Regions from separate parts of the Homo sapiens genome. Here region 1 is linked to region 2. The links are contacts of gene promoters, found by promoter capture Hi-C in human tissues and cell types (Jung and others, 2019). All regions are on one chromosome and are shown on one strand. Each heading gives the region's core, a stretch centred on a gene start or on the middle of the fragment in contact. The rest is flanking DNA. Distances are from core to core; before and after follow the strand shown. Region 1 overlaps ZNF436 (zinc finger protein 436). Region 2 holds the start of LYPLA2 (lysophospholipase 2).

Region 1 (6,524 bases), core at 2,265-4,764, 430 kb after region 2:
ATGTTTCTAATTTCAAGAAGTCCTAAATACAGAATAGTAGGGAAGTATCGTGTGATTTCAGGCACCTGTGACGTTTGAAGATATGGCCATGTATCTCACCCGGGAAGAATGGAGACCTCTGGACGCTGCACAGAGGGACCTTTACCGGGATGTTATGCAGGAGAATTATGGAAATGTTGTCTCACTAGGTAAGTAAGGATTCTACCTTTCTTTGCCTCCACGTTTTTGAGATCGTGTCAAAATGACTTAGTTCTTTCAACACAGCCTAGTGGTTTGATTTTTTAAAGCACTTAATTGGATATTGGCTTGACTTGAGTCCTCAGGCAGATCTTTGAATATGGGAACATCCAGGTCATATTGTCTAAAAAGAAAAAAACTGCTTCTGCACGTCTTAGACGTTCAGATTTCTTGTGCCCTGAGTCATTTTCCAATCTCCAGCCTGTTTGTACAGATCACTGACCAAACAGGTCTGGCATAATAGTGCTTGCCAGAATATAAATGCCCCGTAACTAGTGCTTTTACTCTAGGGTGCTAAAAGATGAGGGGATTCTAACCCAGGTTCATGGGAGGGCGAAAGCCACCTTTTTGTGTTTGTTTTGGCTTCAGAGCCCTAGCTTTGCCTCAAGTTCCTTAGCTGAGTAGATTCTCATCTAGAGATGTTTCAGTGTTGATGATGATAGATTTGTAGTGTGTCAAATGCTGTTCCAGAAGAATGCTGAAATAGATCACAAATTCTATTAGAGAGGGCAGCTGATTTTTTTTTCATGGTCTGCAAGCCTGTCTTCTCTCTTTGCTGTACTTTGGTCTGGGTGTAACTAGAATAAAGAGTATATTCTTGAGCTGAACGGTCTTTTGACTCACTTTGCCTCACTTTGCCTCCTGTCAAGACTTGACAGACATTAGCAAGCGTGTATGGGTCACTAGGTCATTTGCCATTCATTAGGATTAATCCTGTTTTTGAAATCTTTATTCCCATAGCCTTTTTCAGAACAAAAGGCAACTCTGAGGGCTTTCCTTTTTAACTTGAGCTTTCTCTGATGTCCCTAGTTTCTTGAATCCTTTCTTTATAAAAGTAACCATAAATAGTTATCTATCCAGATCTATTGCAGTCTGTAACCCAAATATTCCACTGAATCCAACAAAAGCAAAAAATGACAATCTTTAAAAAATGTGAATTTACAATTCTACAGTTTAGCCCCAAAAGCACTTGTTAGAAGGATGAAAGCGCCAAAAAACTGGTTTCTTGCCCAAATAAGTTTGGGAATGGGAATGGGTTTAAAAATGATTACAAGGCTTTTTTTTTTTTTTTTTTGAGACAGGATCTTGTTCTGTTGCCCAGGCTGGAGTGCAGTGGCACGATCACAACTCATTGCAGCCTTGACTTCCCAGGCCCAGGTCATCCTCCCATCTCAGCTTCCTGAGTAGCTGGGATCACAGATGCGTACCACCTTGCCCGGCTAATTCTTTTTATTTTTTAAAAAATTTTAAATTAATTAATTAATTAATTAATTTTTTTGAAACAGAGTCTCAGTCTGTTGCCCAGACTGGAGTGCAGTGGCCCAATCTTGGCTCACTGCAACCTCTGCCTCCTGAGTTCAAGCAATTCTCCTGCCTCAGCCTCCCGACTAGCTGTGATTACAGGTGCATGCCACCACGCTCAGCTAATTTTTGTATTTTTAGTGGAGACGGGGTTTCACCATGTTGGTCAGGCTGGTCTTGAACTCCTGACCTCAAGTGATCCGCCCACCTCGGCCTCCCAAAGTGCTAGGAATACAGGTGTCAGGCACCATGCTCAGCTTCTTTTTATTTTTTTATTATTTATTTATTTTTTTGTGAGATGGAGTCTTGCTCTGTTGCCCAGGCTGGAGTGCAGTGGCGCGATCTCAGCTCACTGCAAGCTCTGCCTCCCAGGTTCACGCCATTCTCCTGCCTTAGCCTCCTGAGTAGCTGGGACTACAGGTGCCCGCCACCACACTCGGCTAGTTTTTGCGTTTTTTTTTTTTAGAGATGGGGTTTCACCGTGTTAGCCAGGATGGTCTCGATCTCCTGACCTCGTGATCTGCCCACCTCGGCCTCCCAAAGTGCTGGGATTATAGACGTGAGCCACCGCGCCCGGCCTGCCTCTTTTTATTTTTAATAGAAGTGAGACCTCCCTATGTTGCACAGGCTGGTCTCAAACTCCTAGGCTCAAGTGATCCTCCTGCATCAGCCTCCCAAAGTGCTGGGATTAGAGGCCTGAGCTACTGCATCTGGCCTTATAAGGCCTTTTTACCTCAGGATTCCTTAGAACCTTTAATGTGTTATTAGGCATTGTGAATTTTGAAGGAAATGATATTGTATGTACCATTTACCAACCCAGTTTATCCATGAACCCTTTTCTCCCAAAATACATACTTTCTTTCTGAAGAGTGTACTAAGAAACCCAATTTGGAGAATGCAGTGTCTGGTATAAAACTCCTTGTAGACAGTGGTTGTGTATTTTGATTTTCATTTGAAGACTGCATGTGAAATATACTTAGACAATGCCAAGAATGTTCTCAGCCAGACATCTTTTTTGCCTTCTTCAACTTTCCCACTCCTATTTTCATTAAAAGGTCACTGAAAAGTAGGAAGTGACATTTGTCAGTCACTTTTCTGTCAACTATGACATAGGTAAAGATTCATTTTTCTCCATATTAACATAGTTGGTTCTGGCCAGGCACGGTGGCTCACGCCTGTAATCCTAGCAGTTTGGGAGGCTGAGGCGGGCAGATCACCTGAGATCAGGAGTTCAAGACCCGCCTGGCCAACATGGTAAAACCTGTCTCTACTAAAAATACAAGAAAATAGCTGGATGTGGTGGCGGGCACCTGTAATCCCAGCTACTCGGAAAGATGAGGCAGGAGAATCGCTTGAACCCAGGAGGCAGAGGTTACAGTGAGCGGAGATTGCGCCATTGCACTCCGGCCTGGGCAACAAGAGTGAAATTCCATCTCAAAAAACAAAACAAAACAAACAAACAAACAAAAACATAGTGGCTTCTTAGTAAATATTTTATGATGCTACTAATGATGAAGGCTTGGCAAGTTAAAAAATACATACTCACAAAATACCTAGAATCTTGCCTTTTAGATATTCTAATTTAGAGTCTCATATTTTCTGCTTCCAGTGTTCTTTCAAAACACGAATATATATAGTTTTTTTTTTAAGAGACAGGGTCTCGTTCTGTCACCCATATTGGTGTGCGGTGGCACAATCACAGCTTATTGCAGCCTTGAACTCCTGGGCTCAAGTGATCCTCTTACCTCAGCCTCCTGAGTAGCTGGGACTACAGTTGCATGCCACCACATCCACCTAATTTTTTAAATTTTTTTGTAGAGATGGGTTCTCCCTATATTGCCCAGGCTGGTCTTGAACTCCTGGCCTTAAGTGTTCCTCCTGACTTGGCCTCCTAAAGTGTTAGGATTACATGCGTGAGCCACGGCACCTGGCCTGTATAGTTTTCTTAATGAATCATTAATTACAGCGATACAGAATGTGAATTTTGACAGACCTGAGTTTGAATACTGGCTCTACCATTTACTATGGCCTTGAGCAAGTCAATTCACTTGTCTGGGTCTTGGATTTCTCATTAATGAAGTAGAAATAATCACAATTCCTGACTCTCAGAATAGCTGTGATAAAGAATATATGTGACGAAGAATATAAATAATTTAGGCTGGCCACAGTGGCTCAGAAGTTCAATACCAGCCTGACCAATATAGTGAAACCCTGTGTCTACTAAAAATAAAAAAATTAGCCGGGCATGGTGGCGTGCACCTGTAGTCCCAGCTACTCAGGAGGCTGAGACAGGAGAATTGCTTGAACCCAGGAGGCAGAGGTTGCAGTGAGCCAAGATCACACCACTGCACTCCAGCCAAGGCAACACAGTGAGACTCTGTCTAAAAAAAAAAAAAATTTAGTATAGTGCCTGGCACACAATAGGTAATTTTTGTACTTACTAGTCTTATTGTTTACTTTTTATTACAGATTTTGAGATCAGGAGTGAGAACGAGGTAAATCCCAAGCAAGAGATTAGTGAAGATGTACAATTTGGGACTACATCTGAAAGACCTGCTGAGAATGCTGAGGAAAATCCTGAAAGTGAAGAGGGCTTTGAAAGCGGAGATAGGTCAGAAAGACAATGGGGAGATTTAACAGCAGAAGAGTGGGTAAGCTATCCTCTCCAACCAGTCACTGATCTACTTGTCCACAAAGAAGTCCACACAGGCATCCGCTATCATATATGTTCTCATTGTGGAAAGGCCTTCAGTCAGATCTCAGACCTTAATCGACATCAGAAGACCCACACTGGAGACAGACCCTATAAATGTTATGAATGTGGAAAAGGCTTCAGTCGCAGCTCACACCTTATTCAGCATCAAAGAACACATACTGGGGAGAGGCCTTATGACTGTAACGAGTGTGGGAAAAGTTTTGGAAGAAGTTCTCACCTGATTCAGCATCAGACAATCCACACTGGAGAGAAGCCTCACAAATGTAATGAGTGTGGAAAAAGTTTCTGCCGTCTCTCTCACCTAATCCAACACCAAAGGACCCACAGTGGTGAGAAACCCTATGAGTGTGAGGAGTGTGGGAAAAGCTTCAGCCGGAGCTCTCACCTAGCTCAGCACCAGAGGACCCACACGGGTGAGAAACCTTATGAATGTAACGAATGTGGCCGAGGCTTCAGTGAGAGATCTGATCTCATCAAACACTATCGAGTCCACACAGGGGAGAGGCCCTACAAGTGTGATGAGTGTGGGAAGAATTTCAGTCAGAACTCCGACCTTGTGCGTCATCGCAGAGCCCACACGGGAGAGAAGCCATACCACTGTAACGAATGTGGGGAAAATTTCAGCCGCATCTCACACTTGGTTCAGCACCAGAGAACTCACACTGGAGAGAAGCCATATGAATGCAATGCTTGTGGGAAAAGCTTCAGCCGGAGCTCTCATCTCATCACACACCAGAAAATTCACACTGGAGAGAAGCCTTATGAGTGTAATGAGTGTTGGCGAAGCTTTGGTGAAAGGTCAGATCTAATTAAACATCAGAGAACCCACACAGGGGAGAAGCCCTACGAGTGTGTGCAGTGTGGGAAAGGTTTCACCCAGAGCTCCAACCTCATCACACATCAAAGAGTTCACACGGGAGAGAAACCTTATGAATGTACCGAATGTGAGAAGAGTTTCAGCAGGAGCTCAGCTCTTATTAAACATAAGAGAGTTCATACGGACTAAGCTGTAATTATGATGGCTGAGAAATGATTCATTTGAAGATACAATTTTATTTGATATCAATGAACGCCCTCAAGACTGAGCTGCTTTTATCATACTCTCCTAGTTGTGGGCCACGATTTAAACCATCAGAGATGACAAGCCATTTGAAATTCTGACCCTCAGCTTTGGGAATGTTATCTCCTCCAAAATGGTGATTTTTATTCACTCAATGGGTTACTTCATTAAAAGCAGCCCCACAAGTAACTGGAAATCTGAAGACCAGGGGACAAATGCTGGTGAATGCTTAGGCCTGGAAATGGAGTAAATCTTTCAATGTTATTTTCTCCCATCCTTGGCCCAAGGAACTATGCTAAGTGAAACGTGGGACTGTAATAGGGTGGTAATGGCTGCTTTGGAAAAAGGCAACTAGAGACTCTGCCTAAATTGCCACACCTATTCACACACCATAGTAGTTGGGCACACACATCTTCCCTTCCAAAGGGCTTTTTCCTTGAGTTGCTCATGCATTTGTATCTTTTCCATCTTCCTGAGGGCAAGATTTTGCACGATGAAGGCAATGATTGTAACTTTTCTCCTTCTCATTGTTTCTAATTAGCTCCTTTAAAGCTTGCATCTTTGTGAAGGCTAACTGAAGATACGGTTGGAAAGGAAAAATGAGACACAGGTTTGGGGACCAAGGACCCATCAATGATGGTGACTTTAGCAGAAGATGCCCACAGTTATTACTGCCATTAATCAGATTTATGAATTTTCTTTGGGGATCACTATAGGGAATATTGTATAGAAAATATCTTCAAGAAAAGATAGGACCATCAGTGACAGTTAAGTGTAAGGAGCAAGTGGAATTGAGTCCTTCAGGGAAGGAACCACAGAGTCCCTTCCCAAGGAATGTAGGTCGTTTCTGTGTTCTTTCCCTTCTAATCTTTAAGATCAACTCTTCCTATCCTGCTAACTCTAAGATTTGATAAGGGCCACATCCCAGTGTTTATCTTAGCTTGCATCAGGGCATGTGTATGTACAGTAATGTGTATTCCTGTGGTTTTTCTAATAGAAACTGAATTTACAGAGACTTAGCATGTTCTTGGGTGATGTGAGTCATGTGACAGAAGTACAGACATAACTCCAATGTGAGAAATGTCCTTTTTTCATTATGGAAAATAATTTAAACACTAGTGCTTTAGTGTGCACTCTCCTGTAAGGTCTGTCTTTGTACAGAGCTAAGCACTTGTTTGTATGTGTTTGTCAATTGTGGAAGATAATGAC
Region 2 (6,855 bases), core at 4,206-6,705:
CTCCGTGGGCCAGATCTACAACCTGGGCACGGGCACAGGCTATTCAGTGCTGCAGATGGTCCAGGCTATGGAGAAGGCCTCTGGGAAGAAGGTAGGCCCCCCCGCCCCACCCACCTCACCCACCTCACCCCACCCAGCTCTCAGCAACAGAGCAGCTTTGGCCCTTCCCACTCACCTCTCTGGAGGGTACCTGGCACTGCCCAGTCTCCTCAGCCTGCCTAGCACCCGGTGCCTGCGGGCCAGCCGCTGCTCTGCACTTCTGCTTCTTAAAGACCTGGCCAGCAGCTGGGCCAGGGCCGGCTCAGCTAAGCTCCAACTACCTCCTGTCTTGCAGATCCCGTACAAGGTGGTGGCACGGCGGGAAGGTGATGTGGCAGCCTGTTACGCCAACCCCAGCCTGGCCCAAGAGGAGCTGGGGTGGACAGCAGCCTTAGGGCTGGACAGGATGTGTGAGTGCTGGCCTGACCCCTGCAGTTAGGGGCCAGGGAGGGGCTAAATCAGATCTGGGCATGCCCACCCAGGGCGGGCTGTGGGGTGGGGGAGGCTCTGCATTCCACCGTGGGCCCTGAGCACACACCTCGCCGTGTTGCAGGTGAGGATCTCTGGCGCTGGCAGAAGCAGAATCCTTCAGGCTTTGGCACGCAAGCCTGAGGACCCTCCCCTACCAAGGACCAGGAAAAGCAGCAGCTGCCTGCTCTCCAGCCTCTGGCAGGAACTCAGGGCCCTGGAGCTGCTGGGGCCAAGCCAAGGCCTCCCCTACCTCAAACCCCAGCTGGGCCCGCTTAGCCCACCAGGCATGAGGCCAAGGGCTCCACTGACCAGGAGGCCGAGGTCTCTAACTCTTATCTTCCACAGGGTCCAAGAGTTCATCAGGACCCCCAAGAGTGAGTGAGGGGGCAAGGCTCTGGCACAAAACCTCCTCCTCCCAGGCACTCATTTATATTGCTCTGAAAGAGCTTTCCAAAGTATTTAAAAATAAAAACAAGTTTTCTTACACTGGGGCAGGTTCTCACAGATGGTCACTATCCACCCCTGGAATAGAATCAGCCAGGCCTGAGCGTTGAGGAAGCAATTTCTTTAATTTTATCGGAATCCAGGACACAACAAGAAAAACACCCAAAAACCACATGGAGACAGAAGACGAGACACAACTCCTCCCCCACTGCCTCCCTGCTCTAGAGTGGGGACAAAGTGGGGGTGAGACAGCTGGGGGGAGACCTGAACCTCAGTCCAGCCCTACAGGCTCCAGGCCTGCAGGGAAGGAGGGTAACGGGGAGGCAGGGCCCAGCCCCCCAGTGTGGGGAAACAGCTGAGGGAAGGCCCCCCTCAAAAGGCTCCACCTCCTCACCAGCACTCCTGCCCAGGGACAGGGAGCCCACAGCAGCAAGGGGACCCCGGGGCCATGGCCACATTCATGACTGAGAAGCAGCTGAGTGGAGGCAGGAGACACGATTATCTGGGCAGAATCAGTTGGGGCAGGGGCCTGGGGGGGCCCCATGGGCCAAACCCTGAGGTCACAGGAGGGGGCCCAAAGCGGGGCTAGTGAGTGAGGTCCTGAGTGAGTGGGTCAGCGGCTGGGCCCCTTTCTCCAGCTGCCTGTAGCCCCTCCAATACTGCTGCCAGGGGGGCCCGCCTCCAGGGAAATGGATAAGAAAGCAGCCTGCCCCTGCTGCAGACAGAGCCAGGTGGCTAAGGCCAGGAAGGAAGGCCCGGCCAGGCCTTGCCACCTGCCCCCAGAGGCCTGTGGGAAAAGGACAGGTCAGGAAGGGTGGGGACAGGGGCTCGACCGGCTCAGATCCAAGATGGTGCCACGCTTGCTTGCTGAGTCCCCCATGAGCTGGGGTACTGCACTGGGGCCAGCGACTAGTTAGACAGGAGGCAGCAGCTTCTCAAGAAATTCCTTCACAGCTGCCATCTCCTGAGGGGATTAAGAGGGGATCACGAGAGGCACCTGGCTGGAGGCAGAGAAGTGGGAGTGGGAAATGGTCCCCCCACTGACCTGAGGACAGGAGCTGTGCATGACACCCGGGTATGTCTTGAACTGGACCCTGGCAGGTGTGACAACAGACCGGAGCTTCTCAGCCGTCAGGGCCCCAAACCGTACGGGCACCATGGGGTCCAGCTCCCCATGGCACTGGAGTATGGCCAGGTCCTTGGCACTGCCATTAGCTGCCTGGAGGCCGGACAGGACTCAGGGCAAAGCTAGTGCTGCAGCAGTCCCCAAGCCACGAGGATGCAGACACAAAGGGCGGGGGGGTCAGTGGGGACATTCACCTGGGGGAAGGCCCGGTGCAGAGGCAGCCAGCAGCTCAACGCCACGATGCCAGCCAGAGGGTGGGGGCAGGTGAGGGCCGTGTAGAGGGACAGGGCCCCGCCCTGGAGGGAGGAGAGAGAGGGGTCATGAGGGCACAGCTCACTCACCGGCCACCCCTACCCCCTACCCCCCCACCCCTCTCCCCTCACCTGTGAAAAGCCTCCCAGGACGATTCGATTGGCAGGGATCCCGTTCTTCATTTCATGCTCAATCAAGGCCTTGACTGGGGGAGGGGGCATGAGTGGGTAGAGGGAAGCTGCCAAGGGGCCCAATAAGGGAGCTAGGCTGAGGAACCGCCCAGCGCTTTCCTGGGGGGCAGGGGAAGGAGGATGTGGAGGAGGGGCTGGGGTCTTACTGTTCTCTGCTGCCTTCTTGATGCCAGCCTCGTCCTCTGGGGCATCTGGACTCAGCCCCATCAGGTCAAACCTTGGGAGTAGAGGCACTGGCAGCTATAGAAAACCCCAGCCAGCCCCCTGTGGCTCCCTCAGCCCAAGTGTCCTCGTCCCCCTGCCCACCCCCACTCCCAAACTCACCAGGAGGGCATCACCATCTTCATGTTGAGGGTCACAGGGATCCTAGGCCTGGGGAAAGAGAGCCAGAGGGCCCATCATGCTCAGGAGGAATGAGGAGGCCAGAGCTCAGAGCCCGGAGTGGGGCCGCGCCGCCCCTGGTGGCCCCTCCCAGCAGGCAGGGCCTGTGTTTAAGGTGTTGCCAGGCAACCTGCCACGTGGGGCTGGAGGCTGTGGTTGGGGCAAAGCGCCAGTAATGGAGAAGCAGAGCCCAGCGCTTGGTGTGACGGGGTCCCAGGTAGTCGGTGAGTACTTGGGGAAGGGGCAAAGGGAGGTGTGGGTTCTAGGAGAGCTCAGGTCTAGGAGGCCCTAGGGCTGGGGGCTGGTGCTGGACCCCACTCCTGGGGGCTCCACAGGAGCTCAGGCTGAAAATGCCACTTCTGACTGCCCTGAGCCCAAGCCCCAGGATGCAACTGACAGGAGAGAACAGGCCTGGGATGACAGGACCACCCCCAGATGATCCCCAGCCTCAGCCCCTCCCTTGCTGGGGTGACACTCACGCATGGGGACAGATGTACTTGACGTGAGGGAGCCGGATGGTGGAGAGGGCGTCAGCCCAGCTGTGCCTGTAGGAGGGACGGGAGAAAAGGCTCCGATGTGGTAGGAAGAGAAGGCCTCTCCAGTCCGCTGCTGGGCCAGGACCCCTCCTTAAGGAGCACCCCTCCTCAGTCACTTACCCTGTGTCTCCAAGTCCATGTAAAAAAATAACCTGGAAAAGGATGGGAAATGGGGAGACAGGAAGGCTTCCCCTAGGTCCTCCAACTTCTGCCCACCCCTCCCCCACCCCCAAGGACCTGGGGGAACCCAGGTAGCAGCCAAACAGGTTACTACCCCGAGCCTGCTGGCCTCAGGATACTCCCTGCTCATCACTGCCACCTCCATTTTCCCACACCCCCTCCAGCCGGTCCTCCAGCTGCTCCCACAGTGTCTGGCCGTGGGTGAAAGGGGACCCTTACCGCGGCCGTTTCCCGCTCAGCTCCAGACACGGTGGCAGCATCGGTGAGCAGGGGCACAGACATGGTGTTACCACACATACACCACACGGCTCCACGGCGGGGGCCTGCATACATCGGGGCGGCGGTCAAGAGCAAAACCAGGCACAGGACACACTCCTGGCCCAAGAGGCCACCAGGCCATCAGCCCCACACAGCACCCAGGTTCTGTCCTGGGCACAAAGAATAGTCAAGCAAGAAGTCCCAGGGCACAGGAGAAGAAGTCTGCCTCAGTTCCAGGGCTGAAAGGCAGAGACAGCCTCCCTAGTGGCCCAGAACATGTGTCTCTGGTTCTGGCCCAACCACAGGACCTGAGCTTGCTGGAGACAGGCAGAGGCAGGGCATAGGGACTGTAGGGCAGGGGGCAGAGGGGAGGCAGCGGCACGCCTGCTTCATTCCCCCTCTAACTCCTCAGGGGTGAGTGCCTTCCCCCTCCTCTCCAATCATCCCTGGGTCCCTGCCTCCCCAACTCCGGGCCCTATGGGAAATGGAGAGAAAAGTGCCAGGGAAAGGAGCTTCCATCCCCTACTCAGTGCCGCCTCCAACCCCCATCTCAACCTCCCCCCACCCAGCCCCCATCCAGCCTTCACAGCAGTTTCTGGCCCATCCATTCCCAGACCCCCAGGGGGCTGCCCATGTCCCCAGAAAGCGTAAGAACTCCACCCACCCCCAAACTGGTGCTCCACGCCCCCCCTAAACGGAGCTACCTGCTGCTGCTGCCACTGACTGCAAACGAGCCCTGGCTTGACCACGCTCTGGGACTCCCAAACACACAAAAGAATGTCAGGCTGGCTGGCCCCTCCCCATCCTCGGCGTCCTCCAAACTCGCCGGAAGCTTCCACTACCTGCCTCAAGTGCCTGCCCACCCCTCCCAACTGGCCTCACCTTCCATCTCTGACCCCTGAGGGCAGCTCCCCACAATGGGATCGTTCACCTGTGACCCGGGGTTCCTCTTCCCATGGGGAATGCACCTCCTGCCCTGAGCTGCGATTCCCTTCCTTCTCCACCGTGGGGACTTGCACCTCCCGCCCAGGCTCCCTCCTCGGAGGGGTGCCTTCCCCCTGACCTGTCTCTCTCTATACACCTTGAGAACTTCCACCCTGACCCAGGATCTCCCGCTCCCCACAATGGGAACTTCTGTTCTGACCAAAGGTCACCCTACCCAGTGAAATTTTCTACCCTGACCCAGGACTCCCACCTGCCCACAATAAAGCTTTGTACCTTTGACTCTGGGGAAGCCCCCGCCCCACAATGGGCTCTTCTATTTCCGACCCTGAAGTCTGTCTCTTTATACTCAGACACCCCCTTGCCTAGCCCCGCTCCACTCCCGAAGTCCCCAAGACTGGACAGCGCCTTCGCACCTCACTCCCCACCCCCATCCCCCCCATCACGGTTCCCCCTCCCCGCTCTCCGGGACCCTCCCGAGGCCGACCTCCCCCTACACGCCCATCCTCCGCAGCCGCCGGCTGGGTACCTCCACTCCCTGGGACTTCCGAGGCCGCTTGGGCGATTCTCCTCTTTCTCCCGCAGACACACTCTTCCCCCTCGGCCGCCCCCGCCGGAACTTCCGTTCGAGTCCCGGGAACCCAGCCATCGCGCTGCCGGAAGTAGCCTGGCCGACAGTACGGAACCCGGAAGCGGGGACCCGGCTTCGCTGGATAGAAGCTGCCATGTTGGAGGCGGCGGGGCTACTCCCTGTCATTCAGCCGCGCAGTCGCTGGGTTCTCACCCGCTCCCACCTTGTAGATTCGAGACAGGGCACCCAAGACTCCCACTTGCTACCACCACCCATGCGCCTCCTGGAGGAGGGCCGACCGGAAGGAGAGGCATCCCTCACACTATTGTTTGCATAAACTTTACCACCTTCCCATCCTCATGGGACACACCTCTTAAGGCCTCGGGTGTCTGCCACTGGCTTTCATGCCCTATTCCAGGATCATGAATGGAATGACACACTCTGAACCGAAGAGACCTTACAGATCATCTAGTTCTCCAGCCTTGAAGATGGGGAAACTGAGGCTCAAGGAAGGCATGTAAACAGCAACCTCGGGATTCCATTTAAATTCTGCCTCTCTGGATCTGCTTCCTGATATATAAAATGGTAATAACCACCCTGCCTCCTTCACAGCTTTGTTGGTAGGCTTAAATGAGGTTGTGTGAACATGGTTTATACAGTAAAATCACAGCGTGAGGTGTTAATCACGCAAAAAAGGACCTAGGAAAAATACAAAGGCCGTATCAGGAGAGCTGGACAGGCACTGGCAGTGTTAGCGCTGCCCTTCACAAGCAATGTCATGCAGACAGTGCACAAAACGCTGCCATCAAGCTGAAGTGGAAATAGGTATCAGGGACCACAGAAAAGTCAGAAGGCAGGCAAACTGAGTTGAAGGAGCATGTCCCTGAGAATGTGTGGGGATCTGCAAATAGGAAATGAGTCACACTTGACCCTCAGCCGCTTAGGACTCACTCTCCCAGCCTAACCTATACTAGTGTTTTCTTTGAACAGAAAGAAAACAGTACAGCCAGGCGCGGTGGCTCACTCCTGTAATCCCAGCACTTTGGGAGGCTGAGGCGGGCGGATCACGAGGTCAGGAGATCGAGACCATCCTGGCTAACACGGTGAAACCCTGTCTCTACTAAAAATACAAAAAATTAGCCTGGCGCTGTGGCGGGCGCCTGTAGTCCTAGCTACTCGGGGGGAGGCTGAGGCAGGAGAATGGCGTGAACCCGGGAGGCGGAGCTTGCAGTGAGCCAAGATAGTGCCACTACACTCCAGCCTGGGCAACAAAGCGAGACTCTGTCTCAAAAAAAAAAAAAAAAAAAAAAGAAAGAAAAGAAAAAGAAAACAGTACAAAGTTGGAAGCTCAACAAAGCACTTTCCCCCAGGCCCAGAGGCACTTTGGTCCTAAGTACTCAACAGGTCAGGGAGCCTACAATACCAGGATTCGGGGCAGGAAACCTTTGAGCCTATGGGACCACC

What was found. Contacts are between HindIII fragments. The study calls those that stand out against the background at their distance.
Region 1: a fragment that was not itself captured here is called in contact with the fragment with the promoter of LYPLA2 in region 2 in 2 of the 25 tissues and cell types used here (mesendoderm cells and thymus).

What each region holds. Positions count from the first base shown.
Region 1 is chr1:23,360,706-23,367,229 of GRCh38, reverse strand. ZNF436 (zinc finger protein 436) reads left to right here. Exons shown (of 4, transcript NM_001077195.2): 3 at 62-188; 4 at 4,009-6,524. The coding sequence ends at 5,261. Among named protein-coding and RNA genes, the nearest start is that of ZNF436-AS1, 5.0 kb to the left of the region's middle. The HindIII fragment of the contact is 3,881 bases long and covers 1,574-5,454 here.
Region 2 is chr1:23,789,745-23,796,599 of GRCh38, reverse strand. It overlaps LYPLA2 (lysophospholipase 2), which reads right to left and starts at 5,455. Exons shown (of 10, transcript NM_007260.3): 1 at 5,350-5,455; 2 at 3,840-3,943; 3 at 3,561-3,592; 4 at 3,384-3,449; 5 at 2,848-2,895; 6 at 2,670-2,740; 7 at 2,464-2,537; 8 at 2,275-2,376; 9 at 2,000-2,173; 10 at 1,061-1,918. The coding sequence starts at 3,917. The coding sequence ends at 1,868. It overlaps LOC105376860 (a long non-coding RNA gene), which reads left to right and starts at 3,068. Exons shown (of 2, transcript XR_947067.3): 1 at 3,068-3,128; 2 at 5,810-5,986. It overlaps GALE (UDP-galactose-4-epimerase), which reads left to right. Exons shown (of 12, transcript NM_001008216.2): 10 at 14-91; 11 at 335-449; 12 at 593-1,001. The coding sequence ends at 651. RefSeq lists a silencer at 5,218-5,277. The HindIII fragment of the contact is 2,550 bases long and covers 4,900-6,855 here.